2 separate regions of the Homo sapiens genome follow, and region 1 is linked to region 2. Evidence: promoter capture Hi-C in 16 types of primary human blood cells and fetal thymus (Javierre and others, 2016). All regions are on one chromosome and are shown on one strand. Each heading gives the region's core, a stretch centred on a gene start or on the middle of the fragment in contact. The rest is flanking DNA. Distances are from core to core; before and after follow the strand shown.

What was found. The method cuts DNA at HindIII sites, captures the fragments that hold promoters and counts their contacts. A CHiCAGO score of 5 or more calls a contact.
Region 1: a fragment that was not itself captured here is called in contact with the fragment with the promoter of SLC28A2 in region 2 in 1 of 17 cell types (fetal thymus); the score reaches 5.3 in fetal thymus.

What each region holds. Positions count from the first base shown.
Region 1 is chr15:45,358,162-45,360,861 of GRCh38, reverse strand. No RefSeq gene overlaps it. Among named protein-coding and RNA genes, the nearest start is that of GATM, 19 kb to the left of the region's middle. The HindIII fragment of the contact is 473 bases long and covers 1,214-1,686 here.
Region 2 is chr15:45,250,984-45,253,683 of GRCh38, reverse strand. SLC28A2 (solute carrier family 28 member 2) reads right to left here and starts at 1,450. Exons shown (of 18, transcript NM_004212.4): 1 at 1,406-1,450; 2 at 388-484; 3 at 164-252. The coding sequence starts at 468. SLC28A2-AS1 (SLC28A2 antisense RNA 1) reads left to right here. Exons shown (of 5, transcript NR_120335.1): 5 at 1,612-2,103. The HindIII fragment of the contact is 6,298 bases long and covers 1-2,648 here.

The sequences.
Region 1 (2,700 bases), core at 201-2,700, 110 kb before region 2:
TGAAAAATCTGCATAGAATGTGTACTTTGAAATGAATCACAGGTTTCAACTGTACCCTTACTAACGCCTTGAACTCCTTTGCATCCTGGTGTTCCTTTTACATCCATTACAGAAACACCTGTTAGTCCTACACGTGGACTGAATTCTGCTTGAGAAATCTATCCAGTTGTTTGGATTGGTGCACATTAGGGTATATATTTGCAGGCCTAAATACTACCCAACAATTCTGCTGCACAGTTCTTTGCGTCCTCCTCAGTAGCTATTCCAAACCTTCACTACATTTTCTTAGCTGATCATATTGTTTCATTTTTCACAAAGGAGAGAGAGACCATCAGGCATTAGTTCCTTCAGTTTACGATCCCCTATAGATTTATACACATTTGCATATTCTGGTTAAGTTTCTTTCTCCTTTCCTTTACAGTAAGTAGTTCTCCCTTATCCTCAGGGAATATGTTCCAAGACCCCCGGTGAATGCCTGAAACTATGGGTAGTACCAAACCCTATATATACTATGCCTTTTCTTATACATGCAGACCTATGATAAAGTTTAATGAAGTTAATCTGGTGCAACACATGGCTGTCAGTCGGGAACATGTTTTCTCTTCATGTCTTGCAAACAAAAATGTAATGCCTTTTCCACCTTAACTAAGCACTTATCAATGCTCTGTGACCATAACTTTTGCCATGTGTAGTGCGACAGCAAAACTAGCATGCATTTCTTTTTCCTTTATCACAACTTCACAGATAGGAGATTCGTTCTTACCATGGATCTCAGCAACCTCAACATACAACTTTTTCTTTTCTTGTTGAGAACTTCCACCTTTCCCTTAAAGAAAGCCACTTAGGCTTTACTTTGGTATGTCCGAATTGCCAGCATTAAGACTTGCACTTGAGTCATTATTAAGTAAAATAAGGTTACTTGAATACAAGGACTGTGGTCTGATAACGAGGTGGCTACTAAATGACTGAAGGGCGGGTGGTATATACAGTGTGATACGCTGGAAGCGGGAGGATTCATGTCCCAGGTGGAGGGAGTGGAGTGGGCCAGTGCAAGATTTCATCACGCAGCTCAGAACAGCGTGCAATTTAAAACTTACGAATTATTTATTTCTGCATTTTTCTATTTAATATTTTTGGACCATGGTTGACCACTGGTAACTGAAACTGCTGAAAGTGAAACTTTGGATGAAGGGACTACTGTGCTACCTAAGCTTCCAGAGAAAAAAATCAGGCCTTCATCTCATTGCATGCATTTGCTTCTCAACCATGTATAAAGGGTCTTCTCTCGCTGCTACAGAAAAAGAGGTGAAACTTCTCACCAACTCTAATCCACACAACCGTCCTTTGATCCTAATCTTTCTCTTTTTTCAGAATTTGCTACATCAATTATCATCTTTCTTGTAACTCCAGCACCACCACCGCTCTGTGTGTGTGGGAGGGAGCTTTCCCCCTCAGAAAATAGTCATGCTCAAAACAATCCACAGTGCGGTCTACATCCCTGATCCGTGATCAAGGCCTTATCATGACAAAATGATCACTCCTAGTTTGAGAGCTACCACTTGCTTTGCAATATCATATAATCAAATAGATAATCAAAATGTACATACAGATTCCACACATTTTTAATAACCAGTTGGTTTGGACTTATACAGATAGCTCAACCAACCAAAAATTCTATCATAAGCTTTCTCATATATTTGAACTAACTTTACAACAATTCATTTGCCTACCTGATCTGTAGCAGTGTGTAGTATGTATCTGTTGAGTGATTACAAACTATAATTATTGTTGCTGAAGTCAAAATATGCTTCAGGCCAATCCTGCTCCATAGGGATAATATGCTGAAGGGAATTTAGTTCAATATCCCAATATATTTGATTGTTAATATCAATATTATAAGTTTTATTAGCTTCTAAAATATTAATTTTACCTCATGTGGTCTACCCGCCCCAGCCTCCCAAAGTGCTGGGATTTACAGGCATGAGCACGTGGTTTTATTCCTTCCAATTTTCTATTAACCCATTACTTTGAGGATGAAAAGTAATCTGATAAGCCTACTAAATGTGATGTTTTGGCCCCTAATCCTGTGGAAGTCTTATAGTTAATTATAAATGGTATCATAAAGGAGGAGACCTTCATGGGATTTTATAGGAAGTTGGAGGGACCCACAACTGCTCTCTTCAAACTGCCCAGGGTGTACAAATCCCAAGGCAGATACCAAGGCTGGAAGTAGTGTGAGGCCAGTGAAGTACTCACCATGTCCACAAAATTTAGGGGGACCAAAAAAACCTCGGTAATCCAGATAATAATAATGCAGTATTTTTTAAGCATCAAAATTAATGAAAAAATCCATGATGAACAAAATATCAAAATGTTAAATGAAGACAAGATCAGTATTACTGATGTTTCTTTTGCCTCAGGTTCCAATGTGGCTTGACACGGCACTGACTGTACCCAGGAACTAGAGGTGAAGTGGAAGTAAACCGGCCCTTGTGGTCCGCTATCCAGCTGCCATTCAAATTTTTCAGGTAGCCCAGAAAACCTCTAGCCTAGGTTTGGATGATACCTGATTGCACTTGACCTCCAAGATGTCCACTTGGCCCTCTTCCAAGTGTACTTTACTTTCTTTTCATTCCTGCTCTAAAGCTTTTTAATAAACTTTCATTCCTGCTCAAAAAAGAAAAAAAGAAAAAAAAAAAG
Region 2 (2,700 bases), core at 201-2,700:
TATGGAGTTTATGGCACATGTTTAAGTTAATTAATTATGTAAGATACATATATATATGTACACATGGTAAGGTGGAGCGGTTGTGATAATACCACAAGCTGCCTGAAGGGGCAGCCCACCCTAGATCCTTTCCTAACTGAACAAGATTCCAAAACACCAGTACCTCTGGTAAGTGGAAGGGCCCAGTCCATCCCCCAGGCTGTGTCCTTGTGCGTCAGTCCTCTTGCTTCCCTCAGGCTCTACTTCTTTTTCCTACAAGCACAGAGAGCATTGGGATCAGTCATGGAGCCCTGCCAGGGATGATGGGGATTGAGAGCAGCCAAATACCCTACAGGAGCCCATGCAGCAGCCCACAGCTCTGCAGAGAGAAACTAAACTGGTGATTACCATGAGCTCCAGCCCCGGGTTCACTGTGCCAGTCTCCACTGTGGACAGAGCAATGGACTGTCTTCCACTTGCTTTCTCCATCTCCTGTTCTCCTCAACTGAAAAACAAATTCAGGGCCAAGCCTGAAAGATTGGTCATTCTGTTCTGTGGGGATGGGGAGAATTTTTAGGACCAGTTACCCATGGAAAACGCAAAACTAAAAGTCTTTGAAGGCTTAGTTGATTTCTTTAAGAACTGAGAATTGAGAAGATTGGATGTGTAATTTTTATATAATAAATAATGAAAAATAAAATCCTATTTCCTCTTGTGAATAGCTAAAGAAGAGGCAGTAAGATAGGAGAAGAGAAATGAAAGGCAGTGGAATTGAAATGAATCAGTGGGCCGCCCAGGGCCCCAGGATCTGGGCTATAAAGGTTCCTACTTGGACCCTCAAAGAAAGAGTCACAGGGTAACTACTCCTTTTAGCCCCAGGGAGGCCCCACTGAGCTTGCTGAGTAAGAAGGAAACAGGGAGGAAGGCAGTTGGGAAGACCCGGACCCTAAAGTATTGCTGAACAGATAACAATTTACAGGCCTTCAAATTCCTGACTATAATGTAGCATAAGAATTGGTTTTTTATGCCCCAGAGAGAACTCATCAGTGAAATTAACAAAACTTACATTTAAAATAATTAGTATGAATGTTAATGATCCCAAGTAAAGTTTTTAAACAAAATAAGCAAACATTTGGGCCTCAGAATAAGCAAATTTAATACATGGACATTCACAATTAGAATATAAGTTCATTCTGAGATATTTATTTACTTTGCAGAAAATTCCCTTCCCCATGGAATTGCTTTTGAAAATGTGATCTCTTCAAGCATTTGAAGTATAATTTCATTAAACACACATAACCAACTTATATTGTGTAAATTAGGGCCTTCCTGACTAGGCACAAAACTACCTGCATTTAGTTTAAATATGATCTCTTTAAAAATTTGTAAATTAGGCACCTGCCCTCCCCCAAACACCTTTACTTACCCCAGCTTGTGGAATTGATTCCCTCTGGCTCCTCAGTGAAGGACTGAAAGAAAAGCTCAGCTGCGAGGGAGGAGGGGCAGCTTGGGTGGGGCATGGGGGCTTTCCTGCCATTGGTTAGTTTTATGTCTTGGGCCCTCCTTCGCTGAGCCTGCCCTCAATGTAGAGGAGGACTGCACCTCTCAAGTTAAATATTATATGTTTTTAAGACTGTTTTGCAGGCCTAAGACTTATGCAGAGGTGGCGCCCGCCCGTAATCCCAGCACTTCGGGAGGCCGAGACGGGCGGATCGCTTGAGACCAGCCAGGATAACATGGCGAAACCACATCTCTACAACAAATACAAAAATTAGCTGGGCGCGGTGGCACACGACTGTGGTTCCAGTTACTCGGCAGGCGGAGGTGGAAGGATCCCTTGAGCCTCTGGAGGTGGAGGTTGCAGTGAGCTGTGATTGCGCCACTGCACTCCAGCCTGGGCGACAGAGTGAGACCCTGTCAGAAAACAAAACAAAACAAAAGAATTCTGTAAGAACTTCTAACAGGTACATTCCTGTAAGCATTACCCACCACTGGACTAGGCACTGGGTAGCCTGTAAAATACAGTAAGAGCCGTCTCTGCACCCAGAAAATTTACCATCATTTTGTGCTGGAAAGACATGCCCTAGAAAACAATAAACAGCACGACTGTACATGATTCCATGCCAAATGACTGCTAGGAATTATTTTATTAATCCATTCAACAAATACTTATTGAGTAACCACTATTAGCCAGCCACCGTTTTCCGTGTGAGGACATAAAAATGAGTGAGACAAGGTCTCTGCCATCAAAAAACGAACAGATCAGTGAGGAAAGACGGATGTGTCAAGAAAGGCTTTGCAGGTCGAGCGCGGTGAATCACGCTTGTAATCCCAGCACACTGGGAGGCAGAGGCAGGCGGATCATTTGAGGTCAGGCGCTCGAGACCACCCTGGCCAACATGGCGAAACTCCATCTCTACTAAAAATACAAAAATTATCCGGGCATGGTGGTGCAGGCTTGTAATCTCAGCTACTCAGGAGGCTGAGGCAGGAGAATCATTTGAACCCAGGAGGCAGAGGTTGCAGTGAGCCATGATCATGCCACTGCACTCCAGCCTGGGTGAGCGAGACTCCATCTCAAAAAAAAAAAAAAAAAAAAAAAAGAGGGAGAGAAAGACTTTACAGAGCTGGTAACACTTATCCTGGCCTGGAAAGAAAGAAAGAAAGCTTCCTATGACGCCCTCTGGATAAAACTTAGGACCCCTCCCTGCACTCTGATTG